Regions from separate parts of the Homo sapiens genome. Here regions 2, 3, 4 and 5 are each linked to region 1. Evidence: promoter capture Hi-C in human tissues and cell types (Jung and others, 2019). All regions are on one chromosome and are shown on one strand. Each heading gives the region's core, a stretch centred on a gene start or on the middle of the fragment in contact. The rest is flanking DNA. Distances are from core to core; before and after follow the strand shown.

Region 1 (2,700 bases), core at 18-2,517:
GGGAGAGAGGCTGTTGAAGACGCGCGTGGAGTGGGTGGGTAGCTGCTCTACCAACCCTTCCCGGAGCTCGCCCCGTCCGCGGCAAGGAACGCAGCAGCCTGCAGCTCCGAAGGCGAGGGGCGGCGTTTCTGGTTTCAGTCATTCGTCCAAAATAACTGTCGAGCTACTTAAGAGTTAGCTTTCACGTCTCTACCAAAAACCAACAGCAGTAGCAGCAACAACAACAAACAAGGTTTTTCTCCGGACCGAAAACTTTTAAAGTAACATTAAAATAACAGTGTAAAAACAATAACGAGTCACAATTGCACACCATTTTCCCCGCCGTTCCTTCTGAAAGGAAAGCTAGAACCCAGTTGTGGCCTGGGAGGAGTCCCTCCACGCCAGTGCTGGGCTCTTCCTCAACTGGCTGCTCGGGGACCACTCGGGGTGGCGCGGTGAGCGCGATTTCCCTCCGGCGAGCGGCGAGGGACAGTGCAAAAATGTCACGCTCAGCCCGTCCCCTGGCCCGAAGCGGAGGCCAGGCGGCGCGCGGGGACCCGGCGGCGGGGGCGAGAGCGCCCGCGGCCCCGACCCGCGGTCCCCGCCCGCCCCTCGCCCGGAAGGGGGAGAAGCCCGCCCGCGGGAGGATTCAACAGGAGCACCGCGCCGCCCGCCTGCCGCCCGGGAAACAGCCGCCGGCCGGCCGGGGCGCGGGGGGAGGGGCGCGGCGGCGGCGACGGCGGCGGCGGGAGGGCGCGGGCGGCCGGGCGGCCCCGAGACCCCCGCCCGCGCGCAAGGTCACCGCCCGCCGCCGCCGCCGCCCCGGCCGGGATCAGAGCGGCAAGTTTAATTTTCCAGAGGCTGCGGCAGAACCCGCGGCGTGGAGGCGCGCGCCGGCCGCGGGGCCCTCCCCACCCCCACCGCGCAGCCGGCCCGCGCCCCGCGACCCCCGCCCCGGGCCACCGCCAGGCAGCCACCCGCTGCAGCCCCCGATGCCGGGAGGCGAGTCGCGCCTGGCACCCAGGCGGGCGGCGCTTCAGCCCTGCCACACACACGCACACAGCGGCAGTGGCGGCCGCTGAAAAATGGAGCGCCGCAGCCAGAGAAGAGAGACATTTTCTTTCCGTTAACTGAATTGTTTCCTACCTCCGGGTTGCCGACTCGCTACTCCGCTCACTCCGGGGCTCTCCGGGATCCGCCGCCGCCGCCGCATCCAATCGCCTTCTCCCCCCCCCTCCCCTTCCGCAGCCAGCCCTGCCGTTCCTCCTCCTCTCCGCTTCAAAATGGCGCCAAGCGCTCTTCGGCGGCTGCTCCAATCGAACCGCCGCGGACAGCACCCGGGGGCAGGCAGAGCGCGGCATGGGTGCGCAGCGCCCCCTGCCGACCAGACGGCCCCGAGCGCGTCCGCCCTCCGAGCTCCACCCCGCCCCGTCCGCGCGCGCGCACGTCCCTCCTCAGCCCCGCCCCGTCCGCGCGCACGCAACCACACGGGCACGCCGCCGCGGGGCCCGCGAGAAGGGCAGCTGTCAAGGCGTCCACTACTCTTGCGGCTTCCTAGACCTCTACCGACAAAAACCACACCGATTGTTACGTAGCCCTATCTTTTTAGATAAAGGTTGGGAGATTTTTTTAAACCCTGACATTCAGCACAGGTGTTGTGATGGGTAAACAGAATTGGTATTATTAACTACTTTGCTCCTTACTTGTTAACTCTGACCTAGTCGTCTCGGAATGCCATACAAATAGTTTTCCTACACTTTACGTGTTATGTCTTTATTAAATCTCCCCGCTTTCCTAATTTGAGGAATTGTTTATAGGTGGTAGGCTGGCGGAGACAGAGTAATTGAGCCTGTGACGAAGCATTCCATTCCTTTGGCAGAATTGTCCTTATTAGAGGAAGAAATCATCTGGAGACCACAGGGACACATTCCAGGAGGTGGGTCTCCTCCCCTCTTCACCTCTAAGGGATGCCAGTCCCTCCTGCAGCTGTAGAGTGGGTTTAGCCTGGTCACCACAGCAGATCACCTACCTTGCGGGAAGGTTTCCTCCCCAGCCGGGTCCCTGCCAGAGCTGAAGAAGGGACTTCCTCCTCTTTTTACTTTAATACCATCCCTGCTGTAAGGAAGTTTCCCCTGATATGATGTATTTGGTTACTAGAATTTTGTTCCAGGGAGAATTTGTTTCAACAATGAACAAGCAAAGTGTGAATGAATGGATTACAGTAGGATACTTATCAACTGAAACAAAAGAGAGGTAATGCTGATATATAAACTAATGCTACTGTGTTAGAAAAGGTATGTACATCGGTATTCCATCGGACCCGGGCACCTAGAGATACTGAGACCTCTTCATTTCCATTTTTGTGGGATTCGCTGGACAATTCCGCCTCAGTCTCCTCCAGTGCTTGCTAGACCAATATGTTGTGTTACTGTATTCCTGTGTCCAAGATTTTGCCACTGAATACTCCAGGTTCTACCCATTTTATACATTCCTCGATGAAGTCTACTATGAGTTTTTTCTGCCCTCTTTTTAAAATTATCTCAGGAATTTTCTTATTTTACATCGTTGTTCCATCAACATAAATCTTGTATGGGAGAGTAGGATGTCTAGATCTAGAAAAACCTTTCCTCTTTGGTTGTTTTTATTATGTTTTTTACTTTATTTTCTTCAATTCCCAAACCTCCAAAGCCAGGAAGCCAGAAAGTTTCAGAAGAAAGCCAG
Region 2 (2,700 bases), core at 93-2,592, 1.0 Mb before region 1:
GTATTCACTTCTAAACAAGACAACACATAAGCTCTTGGCAATTTTCTTATAAGTTTAAATGGAGACACACTTTAGAGCCCTCTTCCAGGACAGTCTAAGTAATAGTGTCCAGTAATTTCCAGTTAAAGTGTTATTTGTTGATTTGCTAATGAGCTGACATTATTGTTGTCTTACCAATGAAGTATAGTTAAAAGTGAAATCAGGACTTCTAAATGTAATATCTGCTTTCCTATGGCGTTTGGCCCGTGGAGTTGGGGTAGCCTCATGTAGAGGAGGAGTTGAACTGGGGACCTGGCCTACAACCCAAGACATACAAGAAGTAGAGCTGTCTCTTTATGCAGCTACCACCCAGGCCTCTGCCTTCACAGACAATCAAGCTCAACATAGCTAAGAAGCTGCTGGCGACCCTCTTTTGAAAAGATCCCACAGTAATCGTAATCACATAACTGCCATCTGCTATTGATCATTGGCACTGAGCAAATAGCATCTCATGTAACCCTCGCTACCATCATAGCTATTTCCATTTCCAGTTGACAGAGAATGAAACTCAGGGTTGGAACTCTGGTGAAGAGTGATGCAACTTTCCTAAGATCAAAAGGCAGTAGGAGACTGATCTGGGATTTGAATGCAGGTCTATCTGATTGAAAAGTCTCTGTTCATCCCCTACAATGCGGTGCCTCCCTGGGGCAGATGAATGCTCAGCCACGTCAGTCATTCCCATCTGCTGTGCCACGGAGGTTCAGGTGCCTGTTAGAGTGAAAGAAAGAGTGTATCAGGTGTACCTTCTTCTTAGCCTTCCTACTTCAGTCCTTCAAAGAGATTTGATTTCTCTAAGGTGTCTCTTGTTTATACAGAATGGATTGAGTTTTGTCACATTCAATTCTGATTATGTGAGATTCCTGCTGAGTGAAGCCAAAGCTAGTTACTTTAATGCCTATTAGAATAGGTTCCTTACAATGTAATTCTGAGAAAAAGAAGGACCCATTCTGACTCGTACACATACCTGAACTTGAATTTTGATGTTGGTCACAAGAGTTCTTTCTGATGTGGAGGGAACAAACATGACTGGATGAAAAGTGACCAGGCTTGTTATTAATACTAATGAATAAATTAATTAGTACCAGGTACAGAGCAGAAAGAATAGAGACAGGGGCATCCCTAGTTCAATTTCTGGGATAAATAAAAGAAAAACATTAGAAGTATATGTGTCCATGATGCATGTGGTGTGTGTGTGTGTGTGTGTGTGTGTGTGTGTGTGTGTGTGTGTTTTACAAGAGAGAGAGTCCAGGAATGAAAAAAGATATATTTATCCCAACTCATTACCTTGTTCAACCAAAAGATGACTGTCTTAGAAATAGCCTAAAATTAGGTTGCAGTGAGTCGAGATCGTGCCACTGCACTCCAGCCTGGCAACAGAGCGAGACTCCGTCTCAAAAAAAAAAAAAAGAAAGAAAAAAAAGAAATAGCCTAAAATTACGCAAAGTAAATCTAGGCTGATTTACACTATAGTGGTGGGACTTTCTCCAATAGCTTCGATGTTCATCTCACTATTGTGGTTGCTGTACGTCAGAAAAGGCAGGAGCCCCACGGTGCAGCCCTGGAGGATGGGCCATAAATGACACATGTACATAAATTAAGGGCTAGGCCAATGGGCAGGCTTGGGTGCTCACATTCAGAAAGGACCACTGAGGCCTCTCCACCTTTTGGACCATGTCCAGGGCCATGAAGGACAATCTCAACCTATCTTGAGGCAGAAAAGAACATTTTTTTTTTTTTTTTGAGATGGAGTCTTGCTCTGTCACCCAGGCTAGAATGCAGTGACACGGTCTCAGCTCACTGCAACCTCCACCTCCCAGGTTCGAGTGATTCTCCTGGCTCAGCCTCCTGAGTAGCTGGACTTACAGGTGCCCGCCACCGCACTCGGCCAATTTTTGTATTTTTAGTAGAGACGGGGTTTCACCATCTTGGCCAGGCTGGTCTTGAACTCCTGACCTCGTGATCCACCCACCTCAGCCTCCCGAAGTGCTGGGATTACAGACGTGAGCCACCATACCCAGCCAAGGACATAATACATATGTTATAGCATAGATGTACCTATCTACAAGTGGAGAAACTAATCCTACCTGGATGTTGAAGACAGTTACCTTACAATACAGCACTATGCTACACACATAGTAACTACTTACATAATGTTTGCTAATGAAAGAATAGATAAATACCCTTTATATCATTCAAAATATCACTAATTCTGCTACTTGGGAAAGTCAATGCCAAGCTAACACTGTCTAGATTTAAGCAGAAAATATACAATAAAATATTAGTGTTTGTGATTAAAAGCTGGTTTAATGATCTGAAAATGATAAAGGGAACAATGATTGATGAAGTTTGAAGCAGGTTTATTCTATTTCCCTTTATCAGAACCAATTTTGTAACTATACTATTCTAAGTTTTATGGATTCTTTAGTCCTGATGGCCAGAATTTTTATTTTATTTTATTTTTTTGCTAGTGCAGGACAAATCTTGTCATTTACAAATAGGCAAACATGTAATCAAAAGTGTAGACTTCTCAACATGGACCCACAGACAGGTGGGCCTCCACATTCCAGATTTGTTATTCTGAATTTGGGATGTGTGCTGGATTAATTCATACTCTTTCTTACAGTAATGACAATGCTCAGCCTGCTGGCATATAGCACCACT
Region 3 (2,700 bases), core at 174-2,673, 1.1 Mb before region 1:
GCTTATAAGCAACTCGGGGGAGGGGATGTCTGGTGACTTACTAAAAACCTTGTTCTTGGTCCTGTCCTGATAAGCATTTCTATCAGTGTCTTGGATAAATGCACGTTTAGTAAATTTCTGAATATAACGCCAAAAGGAAGAATGCACTTATGTGACGACAGCATCAAAACAAAAACAGATCTTAACAGGTTGGAATAATGAGCTCAAGCTACCTAGACCTAAGTAACTGTGACAAATATAAGATTATTTATTTTGGTTCATAATCATAAGTGCACAAGCCCTCATTGGAAGAATTTGTACTTGTGAAATAAGACTTTAGGATTTTAGTTGATAGTAAATTCCATATGTTATAGACAAAAAAATGCAACGCGATCTTTGGTGACATTCTCCAATTATGTTCGTTCAATGAGTTATTAATCTGCCTAGTTGCATTAGCGCTGCCCATATTCTTAATCTTGTCTGCAATGATACCATGAAGGATTTTCAAAATGTCCCACTGAAGTTCAATGTGATATTTGGTGACATTATTAGAAACACAGAGGAAGAATATAAGATACTTGGCATACTATATGCCAAGCCCTGTGCAAGTCACAGCCTGTATCGTAGTCTCATCCCCCTGTGGCTTTCCTTGCTTGTGAATACATATGTAATCCTTGAGCTACCCTCAGGATCCTGCAGCCCAAATGATCAGCCAATCCAGAAGGTGATTCCAACACTTCCCACTCCAAAAGTTCTATTTATTTAAATGTTACTCAGGCATTTGTGGGTAAATATGGAGAAGGTGGTAGTAGTTGGCCTACCAGGGCAGGAACAATCTTCAAATCTGCACAAGTGTAAAGAATAATGATTAGATTTTGTAACAAAGTACATTTGGACAGATAGGGCTCTTAAGGGACATACAAGAGTAGGATAAGAAGAACATCCTCTTCTGGCCGGGTGTGGTGGCTCACGCCTGTAATCCCAGCACTTTGGGAGGCCAAAGTGGGTGGATCACGAGGTCAGGAGTTCAAGATCAGCCTAGCCAAAATGATGAAACCCAGTCTCTATTAAAAATACAAAAGTTAGCCGGGTGCGGTGGCAGGTGCCTGTAATCCCAGCTACTCGGGAGGCTGAGGCAGGAGAATTGCTTGAACCCAGGCGGCAGAGGTTGCAGTGAGCTGAGATCACACCACTGCACTCCAGTCTGGGTGACAGAGTGAGATTCTGTCTCAAAAAAAAAAAAAAAAAAAAAAAGAACATCCTCTTCTTATCATAGCAGTTAGTGAGCATGGGTAAGATTCCAGATGGAGGTGAGCAAGCGGTGGAAGTCCCAAAGGACCACTGGCGATGGTGTGCCACACACCAGTGAACCCAGGCATGAGAGGCTGGAGAAAGCATGAGCATACTCTGATAAGGTTTAAAGACTCAGGAGGGGATGAAAATCAGAGAAGCCGGCCTCTTCTGTCTGTCCTGGACAGAACTACATTTATCTACTTAGTAGAGGTTTCTGCATTCCTTTTTTATTTGTTTCTATGAGGGTCATTTCCTGTGTCTGTGTTCCTTTACACCCATCTGCTTCTGCGGATTATAGGCTGAAGGCTGAGTCTTTAGTCCTATTCTGCAAGCCATTCTCAGTAGGATGTGCTTTCCATTGCTCTTAACTTGGTGCAACAGAAAATAAGGCAATACATGGCTGTGACTTAGAGCACAAGTTTACATTGTGATCCAGGACCTGCCACTTGCCAGTTTTGGGAAATGCATTTAACTTTTCTCTGTCCATTTTCCCATGGGTAAAAGTAGAGGTAATATTAGTATTACCTGTCAGGGTTGTTAAGACAATTAAATAAAACAATATGTGGTAAACTACTTAGCACAGCTGGACCATTCAATGAAAATTTTAATTGCTATTTTTGCTGTTTTTAGTTAGCCTCTATGCCAGCTTTCTTCACTCCCTGAAGCTGAGCAAACACCAATGTAAAATAGCATGTGATCTTCAGGGCTAGATGCAATTATGAGGACTAGCCAACCATCCCTGTAACAAAAGGTAGGACCCAGTCAGCTTTAACAAAATAGGGCCTTCAGAAGGAAGGTGAAGAACTAGCGGTGAGCATCATCTTTCACTCATCTTCTCACTCAGGGTTCCAGGAAACACGTTCTCTTTAGTCTCCATCTGTAATCTACTACCTTGGGCATAGAGACTACCTCTTGGGCACATGGGAGCACAGTCCTATTCCTGTTCTGTCACTACTATACAGGCAGAAACTCTTCTTTTCTTGGAATTTTAAGTGAATACTATCATAAGCCCCCCTGTCCTAGCAATCCAGTTTGACCAATTGTCAACTCATAGCCACCCTCACCCATACTCTCCCACAATGCCCACCACCAGGTTGCTGGTGAAGTGAAACTAAGACATCATCATTTCATTTATTCAAATATTCAAGTTTGCATGTCTAATAAAAGACCTAGGACTTGGTTTTAGCAGTTCGATTTTTCCTAGAGGTCCATTTTTGAACAGATATTTGCCATTTTTTAATAGATATTTGAAACAATTAGGTAGGTGCAAAGTGTTTCAGTTCAACAACTGATAAAAGAAAAACTTCAGCCGAATTAAATTTAGAACAGTTTCATTGAGCAATGAATGATCCCCGAATTGGGCAGCCTCTTGAACGAGAGTAGGCTCAGAGACTCCAGCGCAGCCACATGGTGGAAGAAAATCTATGG
Region 4 (2,700 bases), core at 186-2,685, 1.0 Mb before region 1:
TGACCTTGTGATCCTCCCGCCTCGGCCTCCCAAAGTGCTGGGATTACAGGCGTGAGCCATCGGGCCCAGCCTGTATCAATATTTCATCCTTTTTTTAGTTCTATGAAGATTTCTCCATGCTTCACTCTAAGACTTTCTTTTTTTTAATTTCAATCTTTAAGCCTGAATCTGGGAATGTGAATTTGTATATCATGAAATAGGGATTTAACTTTTTCATGTATGTAATGAACTGTTCTACACTATCTGTTGAAGAGTCTACCTTATCACCACTGAATTATGATACTACCTGTCATATTGTTTCCCTATTTTGTGTGCTGATTTCTATGTTTGCTCATTGATTTACTTTTCTATCTCTGAATCAGTTCTATACTTTTAAAATTACTAAATTTTATAAAGTCTTATGGATTTTTCCCCTATTTTTCCCTCTTCCTATTTTTCTTTCTTCTAGATTTTCTTGGCACTTGTTGGCCATTTACTCTTTCATAATATTTCAGAATCAGCTTGTCCAGATCCCTAAAAATGCCTATTGAGACTATGAGTGCAATTATATTAAATGTATTAAGTAATTTTGGGAGAATGGACATCTTTATGATATTTAGTCTTTCCATTGTGAAAGCAATGCATCTCTCAATAAGTTCTTCTTGCATGTCTTTTAAAAATGTTTTCATGGGCTGGGCACAGTGGCTTGCACCTGTAATCCCAGTACTTTGGGAGGCCAAGGCAGAAAGATAACTTGAGGCCTGGAGTTCCAGACCAGTCTGAGCAACATAGTGAGACCCCATCTCTACAAAAAATAAGAAAAAAAGGGCATGGTGGCACATGCCTGTAGTCCCAGCTATTCCAAAGCCTGAGGTGGGAGGATCGCTTGAGCCCAGGAGTTTGAGGCTGCCAAAGGCTAGGATTGTGCCATTGTACTCCAGCCTGGGTAACAAAGTGAGACTCTATCTCTAAAAAACGGTTTCTTTAGAGATATTGGACATTTTCATTACTTTTTTTTCTGGGCAGCTTTTAGATTTTATTATTAACATAAATTGTGTCTTTCAAAATTATGTCATCTGATTATTTGTTGCTTAGTTATTGTAATGCAAATAATATTTTATATTATATCTTGTATCTAAATACAATCCAACATTTTTTATTTGTTCTAATAGTTTGCATAAATTCTAGGATTAACTGTGTGGACGATAATATCAAGAATGAATTTTTTTTCTTCCTTTCTAATCAGTTTAACTTTTTAACCTCTCCTGCCTCCAATTTGCACCATCAGAAAAGAAACAATGGGCCAGGCGTGGTGGCTCACACCTGTAATCCCAGCACTTTGGGAGGCTGAGGCAGGCGGATCACCAGGTCAGGAGATCCAGACCATCCTGGCTAAGACAGTGAAACCTCATCTCTACTAAAAATACAAAAAATTAGCCAGGTGTGGTGGCACGCACCTGTAGTCCCAGATACTTGGAGGCTGAGGCAGGAGAATCATTTGAACCCAGGAGGCGGAGGTTGCAGTGAGCTGAGATTGCGCCACTGCACTCCAGCCTGGGTGATAGAGCGAGGTTCTGTCTCAAAAAAAAAAAAAAAAGAAACAATGATAGCTGACAAACTAACTCACTCGTAATCTTAAACACCATGTTTTTGTTTTATTTTTGTTATTATTTTTATTATTAGTGCATTGTGTAACTTCAGTGCTTTAAAATTAAAAATCAAAATCAACCAAAAATTTCACATATATTGGGACACTTAAAAATGTATAAATCAGTTGCGGTAGGCAAAAAAAAAAAAACAAAACTGTCCCCCAAGTATCCACTTTGTAATCCCTGGGAACTGTGAAATGCTAGGTCACGTGACAAAAGGAATGAAGGTAGCAGATGAATTAAGGCTGCTAATGAGCTGACCTTAAACAAAGAGATTAACCCGGATTATCCAGGTGCACCCAGTGTAAATGAAAGGGTCCTAAAGTGCCTGGGAGAGAGGCAGAAGAAGCGGTCTGAAAGATGCAGCATACCAGGGAGTGCAGAGGGCCTCGAGAAGCTTGAAAGGTTAAGGAAGAGAATTCTCCCCGGAGCCTCCAGAAAGGAGCGCAGCTCTGCCATCGCCTGGATTTCAGCCCAATAACACCAGTGTTAGACTTTTGATCTGTAGAACTATAAGACATTTGTGTTATTTTAAGCCACTACATTTGTGGTAATTTCTTTACAGCAGCAAAAGAAAACTAATACACCAGTGGAAATTAAAAACTACATAAAATAATAATGTTACATATCAAAGCTTTTGAGATTCTGTTAAGGCAGTAATTATAGAAAGTAGACAGCCTTAAAATGCCCATACTGAAAAAAATTTCAGATAATAAAGTATACAACCCAAGAAGTTAGATTAATAGCAGAGTAAATGCAAAAAATGGAAGAAAAATCATTAAAGGAAAAGCAGAAATTAATGCGATAGTGAAAATAAAGCTAATATTTTAAGAACTTATAATATCCTGAGAAATATTCTACATGTTTTACACATATTAACCCTTTTCTTTCTTACAATAACCTTATATATAGGTATTATTATTGCATTTTTTCTTTTTTTCTTTTTGAGATGGAGTTTTGCTCTTGTTGCCCAGGCTGGAGTGCAATGGTGCGATCTTGGCTCACTGCAACCTCCACCTCCGGAGTCCAAGCAGTTCTCCTGTCTCAGCCTCCTGAGTAGCTAGGATTACAG
Region 5 (2,700 bases), core at 64-2,563, 1.1 Mb before region 1:
TGAGGACAGGAATTTTTTTTTCCTAGAAAATAAGCAAACCTGAGTGTGTGTGTAACTGGATTTTTTTTCTTCTCTTAGCTGGAAGGTGTCATGTTTAATGAGTGGCTTTAACCGTTTTTTGCACCCAAATCCACACCTTCATGTCTGTACCTTGAGGCCTCCAAGGAAACAATAATATGGCAGAAAATACCAGGATGGCAATAATGTATCAGATCAGGGATAGGATTCTTTTTCTTATGAAGTCAGGTGAATTGGTTCTCTCTGAAAGGAAAGCCTTCAAAATGTGCGAGGGAAATACAAGGGATTTCAGAAAAATCTGTTGAATTTTTAATAATCTTTCAAATCCCTCTGAGCAGGGAACAACGTTACTTTGCATCCACAAGGACAGCAACTGCAATCTTTCCAGGCCCTAAAATGTTATAGTCAGAACCTTCACTCTGGGCCAGAAGGCCTCTGCAAAACTTCCAGAAGAAAAATCAAAAGTAATTTTAAAAACCTTCAGAGTAAACTATAACATCTACATCTCCACACAGACTGAGTTTCTGATCATGAAAACAAACACTATTCCACTGTTGACTTCATTTTGGAATCATCAGATTGTTATCTTAACAATAAACAGTTTCAACTAAACCATCTCTTATTCAGATTTTTGAAACAGCCAGTGCAAAAAAGGACACACTCTCTCTACACATGACAAATATATCTTTCTTAGACTTTAAAAGGAATTTCTTCAAATTGTTTGCAATTAAATACTGTTCAGAACAATACAAGAAACTCTGACAGGGTTCTAGAAATACTGAAAATCAAAATAGCAAGAGTGAACCTCTTTGATCTAGGGATTCTACAATTAAAGTTTCTTGAACTATACAAGATTTATAAGCACTGTTATCAAACATGGCAACAGGTAGAATTTGATCAGAGAAAGCCATACAGATACATCTAGATTTGTAAAATCCAAGGACGAAGGCTTTAATCGGGTGCTGCAGCCATGGAGATGGGAGCTCAGTCTCAAATCCATCTCCCCTGACGGACTAAAACTAGGGATTTATATAGAAAGGAAAGGATGTAACAATGTGTAAGAAAATAGGAGGGGCAAGGAAGCAACAATGATAAATGAGGGGTCAGACTTGAGAGGCCTGACCTGGTGAGTTTTAGTTCTTTGGCACTTTTTCTGAGAGACCTGAAGGTTGTTTCCTGAGGTAGGAACTCAGATGAAACAAATGTAAGTTTCAAGCTTTAAGACTAGGGGTCAATTTGCAATTAAATATTGTATGTTTATCAAACAAACGAACAAAAACAAACCTATCTATGGCAATGGTCCCCAACCTTTTTGGTGCCAGGGACTAGTTTCATGGAAAACAATTTTTCCATGGTCCAGGGGTGGAGTGGGGGGTTTGTGGGGTGGATGGTTTCAGGATGAAACTGTTCAACCTCAGATCCTCAGGCATTAGATTCTCAAAAGGAGCACACAACCTAGATCCCTCGTATGCGCATTTCACAGTAGGATTTGCACTTGTATGAGAATCTAATGCTGCTGCTGATCTGACAGGAGGTGGATTTCAGGTGGTAACACTTGCCCACCCACAGCTCTCCACCTCCTTTGTGGCCTGGGTCCTAACAGGCCACCAACCCCTGATCTATAAGATTATCGGGTCAATTTCAAGAAGACACTCCAAGTGTTCAACTTCCAGTGCAGCTCATGGCATCTTCAGAGGGAGCTTTTTCAGGGTCATCACTCTGGAGAGATAAAGGAGTGAGCAATCTGGCTTTTCTGTGTCTGGTGTGTCTTGGACTTTAATAGGGAAGATTAAACTTTTTAGAAACAACTATATCTCTCCTAGCTGCAAATAACCTTGAGAGCTCTCTTGAGAGAAAGGATCTCAGCCTTTACTGAGGAGAGATGTTCATTGGAAATGTCAGCGATGTTTTCATGTTTCAGCTATAGGTTTAGTTGTAGTTACACTTAGTTCTACTAGCTTAACATCCATGGTAAAAGTTCTAAGTGGCGAATATTATTTCTCCTTGCCCTGAAGACTGGGTCCCATAGGAGGAGGGTGGACAGGCTTCCAAATTCCTTTCCCATCCTGCACCCTCCTTGGTGCCCCCCTGTATCCCTTCCATCTTGGAGCACTCTTGCTTTGTCTTCTTAGCCCCCAACTTTGCTGGTCAGATGTCCTAAGACCCGCACTTGGCAATCTTGTCTTATCTCTATACCCACTCCTTGAAAAAATGTATCCCATGGCTCTGCAATTTAGCAGCTCCTAGATTCCCAGCCTCAGATCCCATCCCTACTCTTCTCAACACAACAGTGTGGCTAAGTGGAGGGCCCTGCAGTCATACTGTCTGGGTTCAAAACTCCATCCATCAACTTGCAGACTGTGTGACTTGTACAAGTGACTTAGCCTGTCTATGGGCCTCAGTGTCCTCATCAGTAAAATGGTGAGGCTGATAGTGCTTGAGGTTATTTCGAGGAATGTGTGTGTTAAATGCATGGAAAACACTTGGAATAGCACTGGGCATATCAGATGTGCTCAGGAATGTTAGTGGCTATGGCTGCTACTGCTGCTGCTACAATTTAAGACATCTACCTGAATGTCTTGCATGCACCTTGAAACCAGTATTTCTTAATGCAATTGTGAGCCAGGTAGATAATACATTGTGTCATTTAACCCGCACAACAGCTCTCAAAGTAGTATTCCA

The links. Contacts are between HindIII fragments. The study calls those that stand out against the background at their distance.
Region 2: a contact is called between a fragment that was not itself captured here and the fragment with the promoter of PDS5B in region 1, in 1 of the 25 tissues and cell types used here (dorsolateral prefrontal cortex).
Region 3: a contact is called between a fragment that was not itself captured here and the fragment with the promoter of PDS5B in region 1, in 1 of the 25 tissues and cell types used here (heart left ventricle).
Region 4: a contact is called between a fragment that was not itself captured here and the fragment with the promoter of PDS5B in region 1, in 1 of the 25 tissues and cell types used here (dorsolateral prefrontal cortex).
Region 5: a fragment that was not itself captured here is called in contact with the fragment with the promoter of PDS5B in region 1 in 1 of the 25 tissues and cell types used here (lymphoblastoid cells).

The regions. Positions count from the first base shown.
Region 1 is chr13:32,585,019-32,587,718 of GRCh38, reverse strand. PDS5B (PDS5 cohesin associated factor B) reads right to left here and starts at 1,267. Exons shown (of 35, transcript NM_015032.4): 1 at 1,126-1,267. PDS5B-DT (PDS5B divergent transcript) reads left to right here and starts at 1,274. Exons shown (of 3, transcript XR_001749808.1): 1 at 1,274-1,342; 2 at 1,797-1,915; 3 at 2,150-2,700. RefSeq lists an enhancer at 163-222 and silencers at 453-702, 1,123-1,202, 1,213-1,582. The HindIII fragment of the contact is 11,896 bases long and covers 1-2,700 here.
Region 2 is chr13:33,626,716-33,629,415 of GRCh38, reverse strand. It overlaps a transcript of STARD13 not described here. Among named protein-coding and RNA genes, the nearest start is that of RFC3, 190 kb to the left of the region's middle. The HindIII fragment of the contact is 4,338 bases long and covers 1-2,700 here.
Region 3 is chr13:33,668,064-33,670,763 of GRCh38, reverse strand. It overlaps a transcript of STARD13 not described here. Among named protein-coding and RNA genes, the nearest start is that of RFC3, 150 kb to the left of the region's middle. The HindIII fragment of the contact is 5,783 bases long and covers 1-2,700 here.
Region 4 is chr13:33,606,176-33,608,875 of GRCh38, reverse strand. It overlaps LOC102723406 (a long non-coding RNA gene), which reads right to left. Exons shown (of 6, transcript XR_007063750.1): 4 at 2,000-2,138. It also overlaps a transcript of STARD13 not described here. Among named protein-coding and RNA genes, the nearest start is that of RFC3, 210 kb to the left of the region's middle. The HindIII fragment of the contact is 5,256 bases long and covers 1-2,700 here.
Region 5 is chr13:33,687,219-33,689,918 of GRCh38, reverse strand. No RefSeq gene overlaps it. Among named protein-coding and RNA genes, the nearest start is that of RFC3, 130 kb to the left of the region's middle. The HindIII fragment of the contact is 3,562 bases long and covers 1-2,700 here.